Linked DNA regions of Homo sapiens: all the other regions are linked to region 2. The links are contacts of gene promoters, found by promoter capture Hi-C in human tissues and cell types (Jung and others, 2019). All regions are on one chromosome and are shown on one strand. The core of a region is centred on a gene start or on the middle of the fragment in contact, and the rest is flanking DNA. Distances in the headings are between cores, read along the strand shown. Region 1 has its middle 6.4 kb from the start of IGFL3. Region 2 holds the start of NOVA2 (NOVA alternative splicing regulator 2). Region 3 overlaps IGFL2 (IGF like family member 2). Region 4 overlaps LOC105372424 (a long non-coding RNA gene).

Region 1 (3,010 bases), core at 295-2,794, 160 kb after region 2:
TGATTTCTGCCTCAATTTCATTATTTACCCCAAAGTCATTCAGGGGCAGGTTATTCAATTTCCATGTAATTGTATGGTTTTGAGCAAATTCCTTAGTCTTGATTTCTAATTTGATTGTGCTATGGTCTGAGAGAGTGGTTGTTATGATTTCGGTTCTTTTGTGTTTGCTGAGGAGTGTTTCGTGTCTGATTATGTGGTCGATTTTTCAATGTGTGCCATGTGGTGGTGAGAAGAATGTATATTCTATTGCTTTTGTGTGGAGAGTTCTGCAGATGTCTATCAGGCCCATTTGATCCAGTGCTGAGTTCAGGTCCTGAATATCTTTGTTAATTTTCTGACCTGATGATCTGTCTAATACTGTCAGTGAGGTATTGAAGTTTCCCACTATTATTGTATGGATGTCTAGATCTCTTTGAAGGTCTCAAAGAGCTTGCTCTCTGAATCTGGGTGCTCTTGTGTTGGGTGCATATGTATTTAGGATAGTTAGGCCTTCTTGTTGAATTGAACCCTTTACTATTACATAATACCCTTCTTTGTCTTTTTTTATCTTTGTTGGTTTAAAGTCATCTGAGATTAGGATTGCAACTCCTGCTTTTTTCTGTTTTCCATTTGCTTGGTAGATTTTCCTCCATCCCTTTATTTTGAGCCTGTGGGTGTAATTGCATGTGAGATGGACTGCATGCAGTTTCAAGGGTTCAGGTTCACTGTTTATTTAAACCAAATACTACAGGGTATGATCTCCTGAACTAAGTGGGTGAAGTACACGTTTCCTATGAAACAGCCTTTTTCATTATCTCACAGGGCAATAACTTCTTTAGAGTTTTGATAAATATTTTAGTTCCCCCAGCAAGCATCAGATGATGAGTTAAAGAACATACCATGTTATTTAAAATATGGCATTTGTTTGTCTACATGCTGTTTATTGAGGTTCTTGGAAGCACCTTTTCATTATGTTTATAAACTGGTTACTTGCAAGTGGTTGCTTGCCAGTTTAAACTAGCTTAAGCTGTGGCAAAAAGAGGAATTTATTATCTTTGGTAGGTTCCAAATTAAAAAATAAAGTGAGCAAGAACTAAGATTAGAAGAAATTTATGAGCTTGGATGAAGGTTCCCAGTATTTCTCATTATTTTTATGTTTAATGATGTATAGTTCCTTTTCTGTAAATGATACACTATTCAGAATAATTGTTTTGGGTTGTTTGCTTCCTTCTTATTAATTTATAAATGCTCTTTTTATATGGGAGATACTAACCTTTTGTCTGTTATATGTTTTCCTCGCCTTTGTGTTTGTTTCTCAGTAATGCTGGTGGAGTCTTCTTTTTTGAGATATTTTAAATTTTTATGCAGCAGTGTCTTTTACCACTGCCCTACATCTTCTTTCCACTTTTTGGCTTCCGCTTACGTAAGGAGGCCATCTCCAACTTAAAGTTCTATGAATAGTTCTATATTTTTACTTTCTTTTTAGTCATTTTTATTCACATATAACTTTTTCTATAAGATGTGATGCTGAGTCTAAGTTAATTTTCTTGCTAATGAATGTCCTATTGAATCTGAAATTACTTGTTGACTAGTTTCATCCCTTTTCTTCTAATGTACAATGTTACTTTTCTTATATCTCAGTTTTCCATTATTAGCTTTATCTGTTGATGGACTCTGTTCAATTGATTTATGTGTAATTTTTCTAGGTAGTGTCTGGTTCATTTACAGTAGCTTTGTTTTAAATTTTAATAATAGACAAAAACTTCTCTCCTTATTACACTACATTAAGCTTTACTCGACAATATTTGTGCAGTCAGCTTTAAGAGCTCCCAAGTAATTTTCTAAACCCTCCTCCTAAAAAATAGCAAAATTTAAAAATGGGAATTCAGATGAAATTTTTTTGTAAACATTGTTTGGCTTTGGAAAGCATGAGCATTCTAATGTTTTAATACTTTCTGTCTCAGAGGTTTATCGACTTCTTTTTTTATTAGGTCTAGTTTGCTGTCAACACCCATTTAATTTTACGTAAACATGCTCTTCGAGGCTGAAGCGAATATGACTGATTTTCAGTGTGAAAATAAAACATAAAAACCCCTTCTTGGCTCATGCCTGTAATCGCAGCACTTTGGGTGGCTGAAGCAGGCAGATCACTTGAGGCCAGGAGTTTAAGACCAGCCTGGCTAATATGGTGAAACCCTGTCTCTACTAAAAATACAAAAGTTAGCCGGGCATGGTGGCCTATGCTTGTAGTCTCAGCTACTCGGGAGGCTGAAGTGGGAGAGTCGCTTGAACCCAGGAGGTGGAGGTTGCAGTGAGCCAATATTATGCTACTGCACTCCAGCCTGGGGAGCAGAGCGAGACTCCCTCTCAAACAACAACAACAAAAACAAAACTGTTCTTGGAGTTGTTTCTAAACAGAACTTGTCTCTAGTATTAACGTAGCAGAAATGTATATGATTTTACATTAGTATTAAAGATAAGAATATTCTTGGCCAACAGGAAATGGGTTAAAGCCTTGCAGAGGAGGGAAACAGTGAATTTTGTCATTCACTTAACCAGTTTTCACACACACACAGAGAAAGTCCAGAAGCCTGGCTGGTAAGAAATTCTTACCCTTTTGCTGGCATGCTACGGTTTTGGGTTCTCTTTTTCTGAGCAACTTTGGTGACCTTGCTCCCTGTGGCATAGCTGTGGGGGCCAAGCCACGTTACAAAAGAAAATGATCCCTTTCCATTTCATGGAACCATAGGCAAAAGTCTCTCCTTTTTACAAGAGGCCAACCAGTGGGTTGCATGGGAAAATAAGATATTGAATTAAATGCACAGAAAGAAAACAATTCATTGGGACATAAGTGACACAAACTTTGGTTCCACGTGCTGTCAGTTCTCTCCTTAAAAAGCCAGCACCCAAAGTTGATAGACTCACACACCCAAACAGACAGATGACAGAAAAGTCCACAGGCTTCCCCTCCTCACATGGTGTGGCAAAGAGAAAGTGAAGTGGTGAGGGGTTTTGAATAGAGTTACAGGAT
Region 2 (3,302 bases), core at 220-2,719:
TGATCTACACGGCCTCTTCTGGCTGACACCCAGAGCCAGCCCATTCGGTGTCCCCCACACACCTCCTTGCATGTCACACACACCCTCTCATGTGTCACACTCTGCCACAGCCCCCTTGGGGGTGACAAGCACACACCTTTCCTTGTCACACGTACCCGCTGGAGGGTCTCAAACATGGAGCCCAGCCCCTGTCCCCTGTCTTTCTCATACACCCCCCTATGCTGTCATATTCCTGATCCCTAATGTCACACATCCAGGCTGTAGAGGGCACACATACACACACACGCACACACATACACACCTGTCCTAGCCTCACATTCTCCCACCTAGCTTTACACACCCACCATTTCCTCCATTTCACCCCACACACCTACCCAGCCTGTCCCCACGCACGATCCGGCCAGGGCCACACAAGCCTCCATCTGGGACAACCCTTGTTCAGGACATCCCCAGGGAGGGAGGCTGGGAAGCTCCCGGTCCACAGGCCTCTACTCCTTCCCCTCCCCCAGCCAGGACACGCGAGCTCGGGGAACACCCCTGCTCCGAAAGGGTCACATCACACACCCCTCAAGGACACACAGACACCTGCCCTGAGGCTCCCACGCCCCCCATCTTCTGCGCCCCCCAAGGACACTTATCACCCCCTCCCCCCCACCCCTCTCCTCGCAGACAAAGCTCCCAGCCCCGGGCCTCAGCGAGAGGAGGAGGGGGTCCAGCCCCCTCCTCAACTCCCCGCTCTGTCCCCCGCCTCGGGGAGGGGTGTCTCTCCCCTCCCCAGAGCCCTTGCACCTGCCACGGGAGGGGGGGAAAGGATGGAGAAAGGCGAGGCCCCCTGCCCGCTCCCCCGCCCCGAGCCGCAGCCCTTTCTCACCTCCCGTGTTGCTGCGCTTGGTGCAGACCACCTCGGGGGGCGTTTCGAGGGGCCTCTTGCGGGAATCCGGGGCCTCGGGCTCCATGGGGGGGGCCTGGGGCGGCGGCTGCTGCTGCTGCGGCGGCTGCGGCGGCGGCGGCGGCGGCTGCTGTGGCGGCGGCGACGGCTGCTGGGGAGGCTGGGGTTGCGGCGGCGGCGGCGGCGGGGGCGGCGGCGGCTGCGGGGCCGCGGAGGCCGTGAAGAGGCCGTGCACCGCGCCGGCGGCCATCATCCTCATGGTGGGGGGGGGCGGGGGGCGGGGGGCGGGGGAGGGGGAGGGGAGGGGAGGTGGGAGGGGGAGGGGGCGGTGGAGGGATGGGGGAGGGGGAGCCCCGGAGAGGGAAGGCGGGGGTAGGGGGGAGCCGGTTCTCGGGGGGCTGACAGAGCCTGGAGAGCGGCCGTGAGCAGGATGGCAGGGCCGAGGGGGGTCTCCGATAGGGCCGGGAAAGAACTGAGAGGTGGGGTCTCTCCTGGGACCACAGAGGCTGGGGACTGGACGCGCCACTGGGGGGACGGGACTCCCCGCTTCTTCTTGGCTCCCTGGGGCAAGAGGGCCGAGCCCCCCAGACCCTGCTCGGGGTGGGGGGCCGGAGGAGCGTGGCCGGAGTGGGAGGCGGAGGCGGCCGCTAGTGGGGGCCCGGGGGGCGGCGGGCGCGGGCGGCGGCGGCGACGGGGCTGGCGGTGGCTGCTGGCCCGAGCATCTTCTTCCCGGAGGCTCCCACAGCGCCTGGCCCCTCCCACCCAACGAGGTCACGCCCATGCCGGGTAGGGCCACGCCCTTCGGCGCCCCCATTGGTCCAGCCTTGAAGCCTGGACCACGTCCCTCTGGGTTGGCCACGCCCCTCCCGGCGGCAGAGAGCTGGACCCGACTCCCCCAGGCTGCTGGGAGGACCCCGGGCTCCTCCAAGCCGTCCCCACTCCTCACCTTGAATGAACGTTTATTGAGCACTTACTGTGTGCCAGGTCCGGTTCCAAGCAAGCACGTCACAGACGTTATCGCATTTACTCCCCAGAGCGACCAGCTCTGTGAGTTACGCTTATTATCCCTATTTTACAGATGAGGAAACAGCCTTAGGAGCTTACTTTGACTTCACTTGGTCAAGACAAGAAATTTCGACTAGGCGCGGTGGTTCATGCCTGTCATCCCAGCACTTTGGGAGGCCGAGGCGGAAGAATCACTTGAGCCCAGGAGTTTGAGACGAGCTGGGCAACAATATTGTGAGACCCCATCTCTACAAAAAAAAAATTTTTTTTTTAATTAGCCAGGCGTGGTAGCACATGCTTGTAGCCCCAGGTACTCTGGAGTCTGAGGTGGGAGGATCTCTTGAGCACAGGAGTTTGAGGCTGCAGTCAGCCATGATCAAGCAACTAGATTCGAGCCTGGGAGACAGAGCAAAACCTTGTCTCAAAAAAAAAAAAAAAAAAGAAAGAAAGAAAGAGAAAGAAATTTCACTTCACTCTTTTTCAATCCTTTCAGCTGGGAAATTCCCCTTCAAATCTTTCATCCATCCTTTGAAGAATCAACACCGTGATGCTGAAAGGGCTCAGAGGATTGAATTCACTGAGCTGGAGTTGCAGCCTGCAGCACCTGCCCTGGGGCACAACTGGCTCTCCATTCAAACAACAGCACTCAGGGCCTACCTACTAAGTGCCAGGCACTGTCCCTGATGCTGCGATACAATAGAGAACAAAACAGCCTTGGCCCTTGTACAGTATTACTACTCATGTCATTAAGAAAAATTTGTTTTCAGATGACAAAGTGGAGGCCTGGGAACATTGAGGGTGGCTTCTTCAAGGGCACACAGCTTGAGAGAGAGAAACTGGGATGAGAACGCAGGACAAGTCCAATTTCAGAGCCCAAAGTCATTGGAACTAGGGTGCCTTTCTTTGGAATGGATCATTGCTATTATTCTGTGTTCCTTGATGCAAGAATTTCCTTCTCCCTGGGTTCTTAACCTCCAAGGAATCTTTCCTTCCTGGGTTGGTCAGAGGCAAGATTAGGCTCAGAAGGGGTCTGGATGCAGGTAATTGTGGCCACTGCGTGATCTGCGGCAGGGGGATCGGCTCCAACCCCCCCCTGCTCCTCCCTTGCCATGCTCTCAGGTCCCCAGGATGGGGGAGGGTAGCAGATGGCCTGGGGTGGATGGGGTGGCTACCCATCTGTCCCCTCCCCCCCATTGTCCCCAGAGCCAAGGGGGATGGGAGGGGGCTGTGGTCCACTGCAGTCTGGATCCTCCCCCTCCATCTTCCTGGAGGGAGCTGAGGAGCTGGTTGCCATGGAGATGGGGAAGAGGCAAGACGGATATAGGGAGATACGGGGGTCAGGCTGAGTACCACACCTTAGACCCTTTGAGTCAAATAGCCTCACACCACACAGGTACATATCCCAACA
Region 3 (3,077 bases), core at 121-2,620, 180 kb after region 2:
CCACCTCAGCTCCCAAGTAGCTGAGACCACAGGCACGCACCACCACACCATGCTAATTTTGTTTTTCATAGAGACGATGTCTCACTGTGTTGCCCAGGCCGGTCTCCAACTTGTAGGCTCAAGCAACCCTCCTCCTTGGCCTCCCAAAGTGCTGGGATTGCAGGTATGAGCCATCACGTCCAGCCCACAATACACTATTATTTATTATAGTCACCGTGCCCTGCAGTGGATCTCTAAAACCTATCTTTCCTGTCTAACTGTAACTTCATATCATTTGCTTATCTCCCTGTTGCCCATCTGCCCACACCAATCCTCTGGTAACTGCCCTTCTCTCTACTTCTATGAGTTCAACTCTTTTAGATTCTACATACAAGTGAGATGGTGTGGTATTTGTCTTTCTGTGGGTTGCTTATTTTACATTTCTGCTAAGAGTTTTATATGTTCGCTCTTGTATTTAGGTCTGTGATACATTTTGAGTTAATCCTTGTGTATGGTATGAGGAAGAGATCCTCTTTCTGCCCACTCTTTTGTGTATGAATATACAGTTTTCCCAGCACCATTTGTTGAAAAATCATTTGTTCCCTTACTTCATAGTCCTAGCACTTTTGTTGAAATTTGATTTCAACAAATCTAAGGGTTTATTTTCTGACTGTTAGTTTTATTCATTGATCTATATGTCTATCCTGTGTGTCAGCTCCTACACTGTCACTATAGCTTTGTGGTAAGCTTTGAAATCATGAAGTATCAATTCTACAATTTTGTTCTTTTTCAAGATCGTTTTAGTTATTCTCGGTCCTTTATGTTTCAATATGAGTTTTAGGATCAACTGATTAATTTCTTCAGAGAAGGCTGGGTCCTGTGGCTCATGCCTGTAATCCCAGCACTTTTGGAGGCCAAGGAAGGTGGATGGCTTGATCTCAGGCGTTAAGAGACCAGCCTGGGCCATATGGTGAGACCACATCTCTACCAAAAAATGCAAAAAATTAGCCAGGCATGCGGTGTGCGTCTGTAGTCCCAGCTACTTGGGAGGCTGAGGTGGGAGGATCACTTAAGCCTGTGAGGCGGAGGTTGCAGTGAGTCATGATCACGCCACTGCACTCCAGCCTGGGTGACAGAGTGACACTTGATCTCACAAAAGTTCTTTGATATGGATTGCATTGATTCTATAGATCAATTTGGGATTTTTGGCACCTGAACAATATTAAGTCTTCCAATTTGCGAACATGGATGTATTTCCATTTATTTACATATTCTTAATTCTTTTCAACAATGTTTTGTTGTTTTTAATGCACAAATCTTGCACCTCTTCTGTTCAATTTATTCATAAGTATTTTATTCTCTTTGGTACGTGGAATTATATTCCTAATTTCATATTTAGATGGTTTTTTACTAGTGTATACAATTGCTTTTTATATGTTGATCTCTTTTATCTTACAATCCTGTTGAATTTTTCTATTAGTCTTTAGGTCATAGTAGCTTCCTTAGGTTTTTTTTTTTTTTTCTTTTTCTTTTTTGAGACAGAATCTCACTCTATCATGCAGGGTGGCGTGCAGTGGTGTGATCATAGCTCAATGCAGCTTCGAACTCCTGGGCTCAAGTAATCCTCCTGCCTCAGCTTCCTGAGCAGCTAGAACTACAGGCATGTGCCACCATCCCTGGCTAATTTTTTTATGTTTTTATTTTTATACAGATGGGGTCTCGCTATGTTGACCAAGCTGGTTTCAAACTTCTGACCTCAAGTGATCCTCCCCACTTGGTCTCCCAAAATGCTGGGATTACAGGAGTGAGCCACTGTGCCTAGTCCTTAGGATTTTTAACATACAAAATCATGTCATTTGCAAATAGAAATCATTTTACTTTATCTTTCTCAGTCTAAATTCATTTTATCTTCTTGCCTAACTTTCATGGCTTGAACCGCCAATGCTATCTTGAATAGAGTGGTAAGAGTGGATATACTTGTCTTGTCCCTGATATTAGGGGGAAAGTATTCAATCTTTCACAATTAAGTATGATGTTAGCTATGAGTTTATTGTAGATGCTCTTTAACAGGTTGAGGAAACTCTCTTCTATTCCTAGTTTGTTCTTTGTATTTTATCATGAAAGAGTGTAGATTTTGTCAAATGCTCTTTCAGTATCATTTGAGAGAATTACGTGTCTCCCTCCTATAGTCTAGTAAGGTGGTGTATTATATTAATTGATTTTCATATGTTGAACCAACTTTGCATCCGTGGGATAAATCCACTTGGTCATGGCGTATCGTTCTTTATATATGCTGCTGGATTTGGTTTGCTATGTTTTGTTGAGGATTTTTGAACTTATATTCATAAGAGATGTTGGTCTGTAGTTTTTTTTCCTTGTGATGTCTTTGTCTGGTTTCGGTATCAGGGTAATACAGGCCTCAGAATAGACTGGAAAGTTGTGTTTGGTTTTTTTGAAAAGTTTGTGAATGATTGGTATTAAGCCTTCTTTAATTGTTTTGTAAAATTCACCATCTGGGTCTGGATGGGCATTTCCCGTGTATGGGTATTCCCCTTTCTCTGCATCCTTGCCAGCATCTGTTATTTCTTGTCTTTTTGATAAAAGCCATTTTAACTGAGATGAGGTATCTTATTGTGGTTTTGATTTGCATTTCCCTAATGTAAGTAATGTTGAACATTTTTTCATATACTTTTTTCATATACTTGAGTGTTTGTATGTCTTCTTTTGAGAACTAGGTATTCAGATCTTTTGCCCCTTTTAAAATCAGATTCTTTATTTTTCCCAGCAATACAATTATGTACATATTGTTTTATGCCATTACTTTTAAGACCAGTTAAGAGAAGAAAGGATAAGAAATAAGCAATTATACTGTTTTAATAAGTAGTTACAAGTTATATAATTGCTTATATAATTACACAATTCTATTTTATTAGTGCTCTCCAGAGGGTGCAGCCTTGGGCATGAGTGCTGGATCGCTAACTACTCCAGATAATTATGGTTTTAGCTGGGTTCTTTTTTTGGGGTAGCTTTTGCCTTTTTATTACAAATTATATATGTGTATATATATATATATATATATATTTTTTTTACTTTAAGTT
Region 4 (3,274 bases), core at 618-3,117, 200 kb after region 2:
ATTTTCTGCCCAAGTAGTAGAAATTGAATGACTAGCTCAGTTTCTGAACATTCTGGGTGGCTAGAAGGGGGATGCAAGGGCTCCATGGCACCATATGGGAGATATGAAAAATAAAATAGGGATAGCTAAATGACATGTCCAGGGTAGCTTACTAAGTGGGTGCACCGAGAGAGAGTAAGAATCGGGCTCTCAAGCTTGAGACTCACTGTGTTGGTGTCACTCACTGTTGTGTATCAGTGATTGTTGTGGGAAGTCAGGGAACCCGAATGGAGGGACCTGCTGAAGCCGTAACAGAAGAACATAAATTGTGAAGATTTCATGGACATTTATCACTTCCCCAATCAATACTCTTATAATTTCCTATGCCTATCTTTAATCTCTTAATCCCATCATCTTCATAAGCTGAGGATGTATGCTGCCTCAGGACCCTGTGATGATTGCATTAACTGCACAAATTGTTCGTAAAGCATGTGTGTTTGAACAGTTTGAAATCTGGGCACCTTAAGAACAGGATAACAGTGATTTTCAGGGAACAAGGGAGATAACCTTAAAGTCTGGCTGCCTGTGGGCTGGGCAGGACAGAGCCATATTTCTCTTATTACGGAAAACAGGTAAGAGAAATATTGCTGAATTCTTTTCCCAGTAAGGAATATTAATAATTAACAGCCCTGGGAAAATAATGCCTTCCCAGGGGGGCCTCTAAAATGGCCACTCTGGGGGTGTCTGCCTTATGCAGTTGCAGATAAGGGATGAAACATGCTCTGGCCTCCTGCAGCACCCCCAGGCTTGCTAGGATTAGGAAATTCCAGCCTGGCGAATTCTAGTCAGACCAGTTCTCTGCTCTTGAACCCTGTTAAGATGTTTATCAATGACAATGTGTGCACGGCGGGACATGAAACTTCATTAGTGATTTTAGTTTCACCCTGACCTTGTGATCTCGCCCTGACCTTCTGCCCTTGTGATCTTTTGTCGCCCTTGAAGCATGTGATCTCTGTGACCCACACCCTATTCGTACACTCCTTCCCCTTTGAAAATTGCTAATAAAACCCTATTTGTACACTCCCTCCCCTTTGAAAATTGCTAATAAAAACTTGCTGGTTTTATGGCTCAGGGGGCATCATGGAACCTGCCGACCTGTGATGTCTTCCCCAGACACCAAGCTTTACCATTTCTTTCTTTTGTACTCTTTCGCTTTATTTCTCAGACTGGCCGACACTTAGGGAAAACAGAAAAGAACCTACGTTGAATTATCGGGGGCTGCTTCCCCCGATAAGTGATAGCCTGAATGAGTCACTTTCTGGGTCAAGAGCCAGGAGCTAAGTCAAGGGGAGTCAGCCAGAGGGAGGTGCTATTCAAGACGAGATTATGGGTGGGGTTCAGATTGACAGAGAGAAGAAGCTATTGGGCAAGAGTGGTGACTTGCTCACTCAGATGAGTTCGAAGATAATCTCTACTGATAAAACAATCAAACTTAGACCATACCATTCATGGAATGACATGGAGATGCACATTTCAGAGTATTGTGTCTTATTTTTCTCTATCTCCATTTTCTGTCAGGGCAAATTAACTCTGAGTACAATTTACAACTGCCTTCTCTTCCTTGGACTCAGCATAGCTCTCAGCAGTCTCCTGTCTTATAGGGACAGCCTGCTGTTTCTCATATTCCATAGGTCTAGTCTATTGTTGACTTACCCAACCTCTCAAGGAGAAAATGCGAGTACACTTACTTTATCTTTTGATAACTCCCTTCTTGAACTCCCCATCAGTATGAAGCTCACCCTGTTGAATGGCCTAGATGGAGGATATTACAAGGAACCAAAAGGACATTCAGGAAAAGTGAGAATTTTTTTTACCAAGTGATAAGTTTTATAAGAATGAAAAGTGGGTGCCGTACAGGTAAAATTGGTGCAAATAATATATTGTTACACCAAAAGGAATTTGAAGCTCTGAAGAACTTTCACCAGGAATCTGAATTGCAAAAAAAAAATTATGTGTGATGAAGATTAATGATAGAAACATCCCTAATTCAAAAGGTCTTATTTTTGCTTTGGATTAAGCATGCAAAAATCTGGAGTAGTCCTTGGCAGGAAGTGTTCTTGCTGTTGACTCCAGAGATACGGACTTTGGAAGTGGAAGCCATTAACCTGGATGTAACTGAATGGTTATATAGTCTAAGGTAGAAGAAATCGTGTAAAGCCTGATAGTAAAAAGTGGCAAATTGTCCTGATTATCAAGGGGGGAATTGGGTAGTTACTACACAATCGGCAGAAGAGAGTATAACTATACCACTCACACAAGGCATTCTGTGGGATGCCTCTTAGAACTCCCACGTCCCATTGTAAAACATGGGAAAATGATAATAATCCATTACAGGAAGGACTCCTGAGGGAATGTATACTTCATGAAGACGTGAGTAACTTCACCAGGTTAAAAAATCACAGCCAGTTGAGGTGTTTGCTGAGAGCATAGGGATTATGGAATGGATAGTGGAAGAAATTTTTTTTCAGGTGGAGTTCTGTTACGTTCCCCAGGCTGGTCTTGAACTCCGGAACTCAAATGAGCCTCCCACCTCAGCCACCTGAGTAGCTGGGATTACAGGCATGTGCCACTGTGTCTAACTTGAAAGAGGAAATTTTTAAATGCCAGCTTTAGCCTCAAGGCCAGCTGCTGAAACAAGGACTAAGTTAGATATTTATATAATCTTCCTCACTTTGATGTGTATATATATATATTTTTTTTCAGACAAGGTCTCGCTCTGTCATGTAGACTGGAGTGCAGTGGTGCGATCTTGGCTCACTGTAACCTTCACTTTCCAGGTTCATGCAATCCTACCACCTCAGCCCTCTGAGTAGCTCTACAGACATGTGCCACCATGCCCAGCTGATGTGAATATAGTTTCTGTATTAACTGAGTCCTCTGCTTTTTGTCTCAGTGCCTTCATACCCCTCTATGTAATATAGGTTTATATTGGTTGATCCTTGGTATTTATAGCATGAAAGAGCAAAAGGGGTTGTTAGTCATCTGGGAGACGGACTAGCATTTTCAAATATCTCTTCCATAGAGAAGATTAAAGGTCTTTGGGTTGTAAAATGAATAGTTGCATCACATTAGGTGGAAAATAGTATTGTTGCTGCTTTTATTTGGAAGTTGAAAATGTCTACAGATGCTTATTTTTGAATGGGGTGGACTGTGCTAGACTTTCTGTTGTCAACGTGTCCCCAACACCACTGTTCCTTCTGAAGTGGGAACCACGTTTTCCAGAATCACTTCCCCT

The links. Contacts are between HindIII fragments. The study calls those that stand out against the background at their distance.
Region 1: a contact is called between a fragment that was not itself captured here and the fragment with the promoter of NOVA2 in region 2, in 4 of the 25 tissues and cell types used here (mesenchymal stem cells, spleen, stomach and 1 more).
Region 3: a contact is called between a fragment that was not itself captured here and the fragment with the promoter of NOVA2 in region 2, in 2 of the 25 tissues and cell types used here (adrenal gland and bladder).
Region 4: a fragment that was not itself captured here is called in contact with the fragment with the promoter of NOVA2 in region 2 in 3 of the 25 tissues and cell types used here (adrenal gland, dorsolateral prefrontal cortex and mesenchymal stem cells).

What each region holds. Positions count from the first base shown.
Region 1 is chr19:46,129,591-46,132,600 of GRCh38, forward strand. It overlaps a transcript of IGFL2 not described here. Among named protein-coding and RNA genes, the nearest start is that of IGFL3, 6.4 kb to the left of the region's middle. The HindIII fragment of the contact is 6,419 bases long and covers 1-3,010 here.
Region 2 is chr19:45,972,396-45,975,697 of GRCh38, forward strand. NOVA2 (NOVA alternative splicing regulator 2) reads right to left here and starts at 1,470. Exons shown (of 4, transcript NM_002516.4): 1 at 872-1,470. The coding sequence starts at 956. RefSeq lists a silencer at 1,636-1,795. The HindIII fragment of the contact is 35,305 bases long and covers 1-3,302 here.
Region 3 is chr19:46,150,781-46,153,857 of GRCh38, forward strand. All of the region lies in intron 1 of IGFL2 (IGF like family member 2), which reads left to right. Among named protein-coding and RNA genes, the nearest start is that of IGFL2, 4.1 kb to the left of the region's middle. The HindIII fragment of the contact is 4,323 bases long and covers 1-3,077 here.
Region 4 is chr19:46,169,997-46,173,270 of GRCh38, forward strand. The region is part of intron 4 of LOC105372424 (a long non-coding RNA gene); the gene reads right to left. It also overlaps a transcript of IGFL2 not described here. Among named protein-coding and RNA genes, the nearest start is that of IGFL2, 23 kb to the left of the region's middle. RefSeq lists an enhancer at 636-1,186. The HindIII fragment of the contact is 4,773 bases long and covers 1-3,274 here.